Linked DNA regions of Homo sapiens: all the other regions are linked to region 2. Evidence: promoter capture Hi-C in 16 types of primary human blood cells and fetal thymus (Javierre and others, 2016). All regions are on one chromosome and are shown on one strand. The core of a region is centred on a gene start or on the middle of the fragment in contact, and the rest is flanking DNA. Distances in the headings are between cores, read along the strand shown. Region 1 overlaps SH3BGRL (SH3 domain binding glutamate rich protein like). Region 2 holds the start of APOOL (apolipoprotein O like). Region 3 overlaps HMGN5 (high mobility group nucleosome binding domain 5). Region 4 holds the start of BRWD3 (bromodomain and WD repeat domain containing 3).

Region 1 (3,248 bases), core at 97-2,596, 3.8 Mb before region 2:
TTTACAACCTTTGCCTTCCTCCCTCCCTCCTCTGTAGTCTTCAGTGTCTATTCTTCCCATCTTTGTTGGACTTTATTGTTGAAGACCATGCAAATGGCAGATGTTTATGGTATTTGTATTTTATTTCAATTTTTTGTCATGAGTAGTTAGAAATTTATTAGAAATTTATCTACTGTAGTAATTATAGTTCAATGAACCTGTTATCAAAATTCTACTTCATAATGCCAAAATAAATCCTTGCTTTATTATACTATTACAACACTTTTAAATAATACCAAAACAGTGTAAAGTGAGTACTTCTTTGTAACATGAATGGAGTGGTGATTATTTACTTCAGAAAGGCACTTTTCAGTTTGCTGTACTAAAGTTTTCCTTTAAGATTGATGCCCTGTTTGTTTTAATACATAAGTTAGAAAGTTTTGAGCAAATATCCTGATGGAGTCCTACAATTGCACATAGTGAGATACTTCAATAAGTGACTAAGTTTAGTTGTCTGAAGAACAGTTAAAAGCTTCTTTGCTTTGGATTGGTGGTAGCTGACTGTTTCTTAATCTTCCTACTGGTTGTCATTAAAAAAAAAAACAACAGATGTTATACTGGTTATACTGGGCAGAGTGGGGGATCTGGATCTGTGATAATTGGCAAGACAATGTTAACTTATTATGGTGGCGGGCGCCTGCAGTCCCAGCCACTCGGGAGGCTGAGGCAGGAGAATGGCGTGAACCCAAGAGGCGGAGCTTGCGGTGAGCAGAGATCGCACCACTGCAATCCAGCCTGGGCAACAGAGCGAGACTTTCTCTCAAAAACAAAACAAAACAAAAAAAGTGGCCTAATAGTGAAGAGTAGCACTTGCTTCTTGAAAGTTTAGAAATGAAAACAAGTATGTTGGTCTTTGCAATGGATTTCATTTTTTATTTTTATTGATATATCATAATTGTGCATATTTATGGGGGACATATGATCTTTTGATACATGCACACAATGTGTGATGATCAAATTAGGGTAATTAGGATATCCGTTACCGCAAACATTTATCATTTATTTGTGGTGGGAACATTCCAAACATTCTAGCTGTTTTTTCTAGCTATACAGTAAATTATATTGGTAACTATAGCCACCCTATTGTGCAATTGAACAGTGGATCTTATTCCTTCTATCTAACTGTATTTGTGTACTCATTAACCAACCTCTCTTAATCCTTCTTTCCCCCTACCCTTCTCAGCCTCTGGTAACCACCATCCATTCTACCCAATATCTTCATGGGATCGACTTTTTTAGCTCCCACATGGGTGAGAACGTGTGGTATGTCTTTTGTCTTTCTGTGTTATGTCTTAGTTCACTTAAAATAATGTCCTCCAGGCTCATCCATGTTGTCACAAATAACAGAATATCATTTTTATGGCTGAATAATATTTTATTTTGTGTGTGTATATATATGTGTGTATATATAAGTGTGTGTATATATATGTGTGTGTGTGTGTGTGTATATATATATATATATATATATATATCACATTTCCTTTATTCATTCACCGTTGATGGACACTTAGCCACATATCATAGTTATTTTGAATAGTTCTTTAATAAACATGGGAGTGCAGATATTTCTTTGATATACTGATATCCTTTCTTTTGGATATATACCCAAAAGTGAGATTGCTAAATCATGTGATAGTTCTATTTTTGTTTTTTGAGGAACCTCTATGCTGTTTTCCATGGCAGCTCTAGATCATGTGGTAGTTCTATTTTTGTTTTTTTGAGAAATCTCTGTGCTGTTTTCCATAGCAGCTGTACTAATTTACATTCCCAGCAAAAGTGTACTAGTATTCCGCTTTCTCAGTGCCCTTACCAGCATTTGTTATCTTTTTGGTAATAGCCATTTTAATTGGAGTGAGATGTTATCTCATTATAGTTTTGATTTGCATTTTCCTGATGGTTAGTGATGCGGAACATTTTTTCTTATACCTGTTTGCGATTTGTATGTCTTCTTTTGTGAAATGTTTATTGAAATCATTTGCCATTTAAAAAAATTGGATTATTTGTTTTTTTGTGGGTTTCTTTTTTGCTACTGACTTCCTTATATATTCCACATATTAATCTCTTGTCAGATGGATAGTTGGAAAATATTTCCTCCCATTTTTAGGTTTCTCCTTACTCTATTGATTGTTTCCTTTGCTGTGCAGAAGCTTTTTAGCTTAATATAGTTCCATTTGTCTATTTTTACTTTCATTGCCTGTTTTTGAGGTTTTACCCAAAAAATCTTTGCCCAGACCAATGTAATGGACTTCTTGATGGTAACCATAATAATGATAGTCAGTAGAAGCCCCTAAGTATGTCAGATACTATCTCATTTTTAAAAATAATCCTTTGAATTAAGCACTATGATTATCTCTGTTTTTCAGAGAAGGAAATACAGTATACAGGTTCAAAGAGTAAATAACTTTCTCAAGGTTACACAGTTGGTAAGCCATAGAGCTTGAATCCAAGCAAGATGTTTGAATCCAAAGAATATGTACTTAACCACCAAGAAATGCATCCTCCCAGTGATTTATGGCAACTAGTAGGCATGAGGAAATAAATTTGAACACGAGTAAGAGGTAGGGGAGGAAGTAAGTCCTGTAAGTGGAAGAAGAGTTGCCTGGGCATGTGCATATAGGGGAATAGAGAAATGGGCAGCTAGTGTGTAGGAGGGATATTGTGTCTAAAAGGGAATGTCTGTAAGTAGGGTAAGTGACTGTTCACCCAAGGCCAAGAAGATAGAGAAGACCTACACAGTTGGAAAGCCTAAACTGGTCTGGTATAGGTCAAGGTATAAAATTCAGGCCTTAATACTGTTTAGTTTGATGGGAACCATTTAACAAGAATGCAGCTTCCAAGTAGTCTGTCTATATGAAGTGATTTCTGCCTGTTCAGAATTGTTTATACATGTCTTAACTCACTGTGACACAGGTATATGCCACGTTTTGTTTCTTGAGATTGTAATGCCTTGTAAATTTACATTTAATGGAAAATGAATAGTAATCTCAGAGCCTATATAAGTTAATAAATTGCAATAACTTCTTAACAAAAATCAACATTGGCCTAGGATGAGAATTGCTAGAGAGATGATAGCTTGGAGAATTTTAACTGGTTTGGGAGTTTTTTCCCTATACATATTTCCCCAAGACCCATAATGATCTCCATTTCATGGCATCTATGCATTCTATTTGTGCCTTGGTGTAGAAATTTTAAGATTGTGGGAAATAGAT
Region 2 (3,065 bases), core at 335-2,834:
TTTTCCTTTTTTGGTTCTGTACTATTTATTTTGCATTTTATTTTTATATTGGCATATATATGTATGTATATGTTTATATTAAGTTCAATAAAAGAAAATAGTCACTCAATGTTTCTTTTGTAGCCAGTATTATTAGTTTCATTTCATCATTATTTCTTAAAATAATTTTGTCATTTACAGGACAGTTCTGTTAAAAAGGATCTGTTTTGGGTATGAAATGTGATAGGTATCAACTAATGCCTAGTATATAGTTTGCACATAATAAATATTTGTTGATTGAATGAATGAATACATGAATTAATATTGGGACTGTTAATGGGCATATTATGAGCATCTTCTTTCCTCAGAATCCTTCAGGGAGGCCTACAGCAGACCTTGCTCCTGTTGTGAATATTGCAATATACCCTTAGTATATTCTCCTGATAGCACCAAAATCATCCTTTAAAAATGTAAATTAGATCACATCACACCTTTGCTCAAAATCCTCCAATGATTTCCCATCTTATTCAGCATAAAATCCAAATTTATTTTGGCGGCACGAAAGCCCCTACACTGTGTTACTTCGCTACCTCTGAAATTATTGCTCCAGCCTCACTGGACTTTTTCATTGCTGTTCCTTCCGTATGCAACCCTCTTCTCTAAATTCCTCCAGGACTTTTATCAAATGAGCTTATCAGAGTCTTTCTCTCATTGATATAAACCAGTAAACTCCCACCTCATTCCCATACTGTTTTATTTTCCTTCATAGCATTTGTCTCTTTTTTAAAATTTATTATTTATTTTTATTTATTTATTTATTTTTTTGAGACGGAGTCTCGCTCTGTCGCCCAGGCTGAAGTGCAGTGGCGCGATCTCCGCTTACTGCAAGCTCCGCCTCCCGGGTTCACGCCAGTCTCCTGCCTCAGCCTCCCGAGTAGCTGGGACTGCAGGCGCCCGCTACTACGCCCGGCTAATTTTTTTTGTACTTTTAGTAGAGACGGAGTTTCACCGTGTTAGCCAGGATGGTCTCGATCTCCTGACCTCGTGATCCGCCCGTCTCGGCCTCCCAAAGTGCCAGGATTACAGGCGTGAGCCACCGCGCCGGCCTCATTTGTCTCTTTTACTCCTGTAATCATAAGCTCTGTGAGGAAGCCACTATGTTTTGTCTATGCCCCGAACAACTGCCCGGCACAGAGTATGCTCTCCGTGACTTAGTTTTAGAATGAATGAACTTACCCATGTTTCGCAGAGGTAATAAGTTGTTTTTCTTACTATATAATTAATTATTAAAGCAGCTACATTTGGGTATTAAGTCCTTATCTGGACATATCACATATGCCCGAAACAAAATAATTAAAAGTTCTGCACCCAGGAAAATAACTCCCAACTGGACTATTGATAATGTTCTGGAAGGCTTTATCTGGGACCGGGAGGGTCAACCACAGGGGTGAACAGTTTCTCCAGAAGACAGCTGACCGAAACCGCAGCAGTTGCCAAGGCGGCTGGAGGAGGGCGGAGAAAAGGCGGTAACTGGCAGGCAAGGGGCGTAACGGGGTGGGGCTGTCCTAAGGGAAGCCTAGTCGAACTGATTTGTCCCTCTCTGCTCTCCGTCTGAAAACCTTGGCCGAAAGGGTTGTAGACATGGCGGCCATCAGGGTAAGCGAAAACCAACTTGCTTAATTTCTGTGGGTGCCGATAGCATCCCGGTAACTGTAAAAGGGATCCTACTAACTTCTGAAGGAGCCCTGAAACAAGGGGCAGGGTGGAGGTGGGTTTTGAGATAATTGCAATCTTTATCGTTTGAAGCCTCAAGACACCTGCCTTTCCCCATTAGGGTTTTATCAGCCTGGGACGCTGCTCCCTCAATCCCCTGTGGTTGTCGATTTACACAGTGGCACAGTACAAAACTGGGAAACGGCTGGGTGAAAATGGCTGGCCAGGCGACGAGCCGCAGTAGACGTTTCGGTCTTCAGCTGCAATAAAGAGAAAAATATATATATAAACTTGGCATTTGTCTCGGCGCACAGGGCAAGGCCACATGACCCTATGGAAGGACTTTGTTGAAACATTTGGGGTGAAACTGACCAGGATAGAGAGGTCCCATAGTCTTTCAGCAGTGCGCTGGTTTACACATAGTGTTGTTGCTTTCTGTGCTCGAATAACCTGTTCCTTTCGAGTTTTACGCTTGGGAAAGGTGCCTTTACTTGGGAGTCCGTGTACAGTGAGTGACTCAGCTGGCAGCTTGCTGCAGTTCCCTAAGTAGTGTTTAATAATGGTAGTCTACAGATATTTACGTAGCGGGTTTTAATTGTAAAATATTCTGTTAGGCTTGCAGGAGATACAGTATGAATAATTCAGTTCCGCTGAAGTTTTAAGTCGGCAGCGTCTACAGTTCTGGTTCTCATACTTCATCTGAGTTATTTGAACAACCTCCTACCTGAACTTGCCACCTCAAGCCTGGCTCTCATGTAATCTGTTTTCCTCTGTGTTGCCAGAGTACATCTACCAAAATGCAAATTTGATTTTTGCCTCCCCCCGCATTTAAAAAATTTTATGGGCATGTCATCATCTCCCCTCTGGGGTCAGGCCATACTCTTATGTCTAGAACATCTGATTTTACCTAGACTTTCCAGCCTCATCTCTTGTCACTCAGGAACCCTCCTCCTGTCGATACTGAGCTGCTTGCTTGACCCCGCCATGCTTTTTTACGTGCTCTTTCTCTGGGCCTAAAGTGCCTTTTCCCATGCTTATCTAGTTGTATTTATAGTTCATTCATTCATTCAGCAGCTATTTGTGTACAGCCTCCCCATATGCAAAACACAAAAATGCCTTGTTTAATAGTGTCCTTGATCTCCCCAGTCTATTTTATTTTATTTTATTTTTTATTTTTGAGACGGAGTCTCTCTCTGTCTCCCAGGCTTGAGTGCAGTGGCGCGATCTCAGCTCACTGCAACCTCCACCTCCCGGGTTCAGGCGATTCTCCTGCCTCAGTCTCCTGAGTAGCTGGGACTACAGGCGCATGCCAACCATGCCCGGCTAAATTTTTTTATTTTTATTTTTTAGTAGAGACGGGGTTTCACCATGTT
Region 3 (3,196 bases), core at 401-2,900, 3.9 Mb before region 2:
ATGCCCGGCTAATTTTTGTATTTTCTGTGGTGATGGTGATTTTCTATGTTGCCCAGGCTGGTCTCAAACTCCTACGTTCAAGCAATCTGCCCATCTCAACCTTCCAGAGTACTCAGATTACAGGTGTAAGCCACCACGTCTGGCCTTACTTTTCTTTTTAAAAGAAAATATGCTGTATTTACTGTTTTAAAAACTAGTAAGTTGAATATTTAACCTTATATAATAGTGGACTTGAAAAGTAAAATGCAGAAAAAAAAACCTTCTTTTCTTTTGTCACCATTAAATATATCAATTATTACTAAAACTTCAATTTCCCTAAGTTTAGCAATATTTTTTAATAAAGGATTTCATTTATGAACATAATGACAGTTTATACTTTCTTCAACTACAAAGTGATAGGATTAGATGCTCTCTAATGTTTCTCATAGCTTTAACCTTTTATGATTTCAGGAATTCAATCAATATTCTTATGTATTAAGCAATTAGCAGTAAACTAAATATTGAGATTATATCTATTTCTACATGCCTTTAGCCATAACACCAGAGTATATAAGTCCATACAAAATCAATTGTGTCCATTTAAAATTAACATATGCAAATACATCTTACATATATTATATATATAATTATATATAATCTTATATACTTTGCCAACTGTAAAATATTATCAAATGTTAGTTACTACTTTTATTACAAAGCACAACTTTGGGGTTACTACTGTTTTCACCTTTTGTTTTCCCAGGGAAACAGTATTGTCACTATATGATAGCAAAGGCATGTACATTTAATGGGCCTATCCAACTGAAATTGTTTTGTCTCTACCCAGTGAAAATGTCAAAACACTGTGGACAATCACAAAACAGAACAAATAATCCCCACCCAAGGGGTTTACATGTATCATATGATAGAATATAATATATTACTAACTGAACAAAATATAAGCAAAGTAAAATGATCAGCTGTATGCCATTTCAAAAATTATTTTTGAAAAAAAAAGCAAATTTATTTCAATATTCTACGTTGAATATTTACCCTTGAACTTGATGTTCTTTTAGGCTTCACCTCTGGTGTAACTGGCACAAGCATCTGCTTCAAGTTGTGGGAAAAGAAAAGAAAAGGAAAAAAATCATATTTGAAGAAAGAACGCTAAAAATGAAATCCAACCTCTGAATTAAAATAAATGAGTATTAGGAAAAAAAATACATTTCCTTGGTGTGAAAGTTTTTCTTAAAACTTCAAAAATAAATCGTGTATTGAATATTTTAGGATTCCCTAAATTTTAAAATGACGTTTCACAATACATGGGCTGCTTTTTGAAAAGATTACTTACAGCAGACAACCTGGCAGATCTTCTCTTTGGCTATAAGTTAAAAACAAAAATCTGTTAAGAGAATTATGGATACAAAAAGCTAGAATTATTTTTATTGAGGTCAAAATATTTGGTGTAACAATACATAAATATTGTCATTAAGTAATTGTGAATTTGGTTAGAAAATACAAGAGAAATATAAGTTTTGATTTTTCCGTCCTCTGAACACTTTACATACTAAGGAAAAAGTCCCAAATTAAGCTTAAGCAGCTAGGCTAAATTAACACAGTAGCTAGTAACAAGGAGCACATTTAGAAATGAAAATATAGCCTTTTCTTGCCAAATGACAAAGCAATTATTTTGCTTAAAAGGAAGAAGTTCTCTCCACATCTGAACAAGCACAATAAGGTCTTAAATTCGAAGAAGCTTGCAGTTTTTAATACTTACTATATATACATTTTTTTCACACTCAGTATATTTTTATTGTGCATTAATTAGATTAAAATTAATAATATGCATTGACCAAAATATTAGATTAACAAGGCCATAAAGGTAAACTGAGAGGTTTCTTTAATATAATTGTCGCACAACAATGATTCTCGCTTTGTAGGACATATAGAAGATGGCATACTCTAGGAGTTAGAACAATATATATTTAATGCAATAACAAAAACTATATAGTACTTTAAGAAATGTTTCACATATGTGAACAGTCATTTAGAGCCTCAACTTTCTAAAGTAAGCAACATGTAAGCCTGTAAAGTACACACACCAAATCATAGTCTAACCCACAAAACACCCAAATAAAATATTAGCACATCTCTATTGTCAAGAATATTTCCGTACCATCATTTCTATAAAAAAAAGTGAAAAAGCCTTTTCTTTTATTCTGAATGGCAATTTTAAAAAGTCCTCTCTTCTGAAATTCGGATATATATTTTTGAGAGATCCCACTGGTATACCATATTGGAACTCATATTGTACAAATATACCAACCAGCATCTATTTTTTAGCTGCTTATGTCAAGTTTATAAAACGAGTGGTTTTTCCTAATAGATGCTAAGACTAAAGAAACTCACCTCCTGCCTCATATCACCTTGACCTGCAGCCTACACAGAGGAGAAAACCACACAGAAATAAGGTCATTGATATAAACACATAAATCAGAAAATACTGCCTGCGGATTACAAATTTCAATATAATTGCTTATTACTTTCTCCTGGGTTCCTGCTCAAGTAGACACGTGTTGTTTCTTAGGAACCATGCTACATACTGCTGTTTTACTAATGTGCACCAAGATGCAAGTGCATGCACAAGACATACTTTTACACAATTGATAGTTAATTTCATCCTTTTGTGTAAATTGCATCTCCTAAAAGCAAACCTTTGTAATTTTGAAATCCACCTGCTTTAGATAATGTAAAAGCCAAAAATGTGGGGGTGGGTCAAATGAAGGCGGAGCTTCATGCAATTTCGCTTTCTTGCCTTATGTTTGCCATGCAATTGTACCTATCTTATCCTCTCCACTGATTCTGGACTATTTTCTCCAAGTTTTGCATGCAAGAATTACAGCCCCCACAGTGTTTTCTTGGGGAGACCTCTTTGTTACAAAGTCAATGCTTTATTCTAAGAAACTGGCCGCCGATTTTAAAACTTCCCGCCACTACCTGCTTTAAGGTTGCTGTCAGCTCTGGAAAACAGCAAGACCTACTGCACAAGTATAGAAAAGCACAGTGGCGGGAATCTCAGGAAGGGGGGATGGTGATTAGAAACAGTTGTTTTCCATATCTGAGCAGCCCTTTAGCCTGAGAATTATCAAGCTATTGCACGATTCAGACAGCCACAGAGCACGGGGGAATTTCAGTATTATTCCTATGTTTTAGGAAT
Region 4 (3,140 bases), core at 287-2,786, 4.2 Mb before region 2:
TATAGTCTTATTGCAAGCAAATTTTAAATCATTTATATTTAGAGTCTATCATACACCGCCAACTTTCTTTAACTTTGTCCGATTTTCCTCCACTTGGATCTTACTTGAAGGAAAGATAGCTGAATTTAGATTTTAGTAACATCATTCCTTTCTCCTTTCACTACCCTCCAATGCACTGTGGCAGCAGCTAACACAAGGGAACCTCCCCCGCAAAATAAAAAGGATCACCTGTTTTTGTGTGTCAATGCTGAACACAAGGTACATTTATACTATGAATTATATTTGCAGGAGAAACAACATAGACCAATGCCTTTGGTCCTTCACTAAAGTATATTCCATTTTTAAATATGTCCATTGTTGTCTCCTTGTAAACCCAAAATCGTGTTTCACCAATTCTCAAAAAGTGATAACTCAGTTTCTATTTAGTGAAAACGGGTCTATGCAAATGCGACTTAACTGATAATTGAATGAGCTTATAAAATCGGAGATACGTAACGATTATGCTTTTACTCAGTAGACCATTACCTAACCGGCAAAATTTGAAATTGGCTTGACGCTCCTTATTATTTTTAATTATGTCGTTTTTCCTAATCCCTGGTCCGTCAATTCCCCTCCAGAGCCCCTTCCTCCCACGCCTCCCCCCTGCCCCCCCGCCCCCCCCAAAAAAGACCAAGCCTGGCCTTAGTTCCCGTATTTCAGGCCAGGACCAACCAGAAACCAGTTTTCTTCCACTAATCCGGAACTCCGGGCTGTTACCAACGCTGTCATTGGCCAGCGTCAGACCTTAGTACGTGCCCCAAGATAACCCCTTGGTTTCTCTCCCTTTTCCGCCTACAATGGGCCTTCCCCAATGTTTGTAACATATTCATAATCCACAACACGGCACCTCTGATAATCAACTCACATTCTTCAAAGTTTTCGGGTGGAAACAAGCAGGGCCAAGGGGAGGGCAAGGTACCCTTTTTCCGACTAGCAGGGATGGGGGAAGGGGCAGTCGTTCTTTGGCTCTGCACCGAGCTCTAGAACCTCGTCGGCTGAGAGGTGGGGGGCGGGTTGGGGGTACAAGGTGGGGAGGGAGTGGTGAAAGAGTTAGGTTAAGTTGAAATGAAAACTTTACTCACCAGATCCTCGAAGCTTCTTCGGTGCTCTTTCCCCTCCCAATCTAAGCGGCGCGGAATCAGCTGGGGGCCGGACGAAAAGAAAGGGGGAAGCGGAGGCAAATGATGAAGGAAAAGCCTCCGCTCCCCATCAACTGGACCCAACCTGTGTCCCAGTCCTCAACACTTTACCGTCTTTATTTCTCTCGGCCTGATAGCTATTGGCTCAGAGCTAGACAAGTATATGGGGGGGGGGGGGAAGGGGGGTCGAGAAGGAAATCCTGAAAAACTGCCTCCCACAAGCATAAAGCGGGGACGAGTTAAGACCCCAGCGTTGTCTGCCCCTTTTGAGGGAAGAAGCCAATTCACCCCGGTGACAACAGCTACGGGTACCCAGATCGAAGCCTCTATCCCAGCCCGTCTTCCGCCCCTGACTTGCCCTCCCCTTCCTCCAGTCTCACCTCAACCCTCCCCACCCTTCCCGAAGGGGCTCCGTACCTGATGCTCCTCGAGCTCCTGCACTAGCACCTGAGCAAAAGGGAAACACAGATATGAGGAGCAGCTCGGGCCATCAACCCATTCCTCCCTCCACACTTAAAGCCCAGCCGCTGACCGTTTGACTAGTCAAGGCCGGCCTTTCCCTCACCCTCAACGGAACTGCTCGTCCCGCTGCCTCGATTTCCCCACTGGGACCATTCACCACGACTCCCAGATCTCTTTCTTCCCCTTACCTGAGCGGATTTGTTGCAGGGTCCAGACTGCAAGAACCTAGCGATCAGGTAATACAGCTCTGGGGAAGAGGGGGGAAAAGAGGTTCAGAGGGAGGTAGAGAAGAGAAATAGAAGCTTTTTCAAAAGAAACTGACAGCCTTCGCGCTAAGCCCCCATTCCCTTAGCACCCCCCCACCCCCCGACACAGCTACCCACCGGCTTCGATCTGGGTAGGTGCTGCCGCCATCCTTTTCCCGAGGGGGTTTGGGGGCTTCGCTCCGGAGGGGCTGGCGGGGGCGGGTGGGGGCGCTGCCTCTATTGTGGTGAAGCCCCCATGCCCGGGAGTCCCGCCGCTTCCGCCGCACTCCTCGTCCTAGTTTCGCTCTCTCTCGAATTCATCGCATCACGTTTCGACCCATAGATATTCTAGCCCAAGAGCTGAGGAGGCGGAGGAGGAAGGAGAGGAGAGGGAGAGGGAGAGAGAGAGTGAGTGAGTGAGAGAGAGAGAGAGAAGAGAGAGAGAGAGAGAGGAAAAAGAGAGAGAGAGAGAGAGAGAGAGAGAGAGAGAGAGAGAGAGAGACGCGGGGGGTGGGGGGGCGGAGAGAGAGAGAGAGAGAGAGATAGACGGAGCGAGAAGAGGGAGGAGCCGAAGTGGCGAAGAGGTGGGCGGGGGCAAAGGGGGTGGAGAGAGGGGAGGGTAAAAATGGTGATAGGGTTTTGCAGCGCTCATAGTTCCCCGCTAGAGGCACTAATACAGCAGCTGAGCCTAGACTCTCCCGGAGCCCGATGGTTGCTTAGCTACAGCTCTGGGAAGGAGGGGGAGGTGCTAACTGACGGCCGACGCTCTGGCAGCCGCCTTGGAACTCTGTGGTGGCATTCGCGTCTGCGAGCTCCGGAGTGACTTTCCCTTCCTGTGAAGGCAATCCGGCCCTTTCCGGTGGAGGACCCTTCCCCCTGGGTTGATCTTGAGGAACTTAAGAGACGGTGTTTTGACTCGACTCCTTTCCCCTTTTTCCTCCCGGTACCAAAGCGGTTTTGTTTGCTGTTTATACTCTACCCCGTGGAAAGGCGGCTAGCTGGCTAAAGGGTTTTATGCCTGGGGGAGGATGAGTCGCTATTTGGTCGTGACTTGTTTCTGTTTAAAATTATTATTATTTACCAAATGAAAATGTTGTACTTACCAGTCCAAAGTGCGGGGCTTATATTGTTAGAAGACCACTTAAAATGCTCCTGGATTCTGACAAATATTGCATGAGAAATTTGCAATCAGCCGTGAAGCATGTTTCCCCTTCTGAAAGTTTAACACGTGCCGTATCTACGGCTGGGATCTAAC

The links. The method cuts DNA at HindIII sites, captures the fragments that hold promoters and counts their contacts. A CHiCAGO score of 5 or more calls a contact.
Region 1: a fragment that was not itself captured here is called in contact with the fragment with the promoter of APOOL in region 2 in 2 of 17 cell types (total B cells and non-activated CD4 T cells); the score reaches 9.2 in total B cells.
Region 3: a contact is called between a fragment that was not itself captured here and the fragment with the promoter of APOOL in region 2, in 1 of 17 cell types (naive CD8 T cells). The highest score is 5.2, in naive CD8 T cells.
Region 4: a contact is called between a fragment that was not itself captured here and the fragment with the promoter of APOOL in region 2, in 5 of 17 cell types (naive CD8 T cells, non-activated CD4 T cells, total B cells and 2 more). The highest score is 12.3, in naive CD8 T cells.

The regions. Positions count from the first base shown.
Region 1 is chrX:81,204,021-81,207,268 of GRCh38, forward strand. All of the region lies in intron 1 of SH3BGRL (SH3 domain binding glutamate rich protein like), which reads left to right. Among named protein-coding and RNA genes, the nearest start is that of SH3BGRL, 3.5 kb to the left of the region's middle. The HindIII fragment of the contact is 1,675 bases long and covers 510-2,184 here.
Region 2 is chrX:85,002,293-85,005,357 of GRCh38, forward strand. APOOL (apolipoprotein O like) reads left to right here and starts at 1,585. Exons shown (of 9, transcript NM_198450.6): 1 at 1,585-1,635. The coding sequence starts at 1,621. The HindIII fragment of the contact is 4,827 bases long and covers 1-3,065 here.
Region 3 is chrX:81,117,400-81,120,595 of GRCh38, forward strand. HMGN5 (high mobility group nucleosome binding domain 5) reads right to left here. Exons shown (of 7, transcript NM_030763.3): 3 at 2,389-2,418; 4 at 1,331-1,360; 5 at 1,033-1,086. Among named protein-coding and RNA genes, the nearest start is that of HMGN5, 83 kb to the right of the region's middle. The HindIII fragment of the contact is 165 bases long and covers 1,569-1,733 here.
Region 4 is chrX:80,807,418-80,810,557 of GRCh38, forward strand. It overlaps BRWD3 (bromodomain and WD repeat domain containing 3), which reads right to left and starts at 2,460. Exons shown (of 41, transcript NM_153252.5): 1 at 2,024-2,460; 2 at 1,829-1,887; 3 at 1,596-1,625; 4 at 1,122-1,181. The coding sequence starts at 2,054. It overlaps LOC124905202 (a long non-coding RNA gene), which reads left to right and starts at 1,391. Exons shown (of 2, transcript XR_007068278.1): 1 at 1,391-1,876. RefSeq lists an enhancer at 2,695-2,774. The HindIII fragment of the contact is 808 bases long and covers 1,133-1,940 here.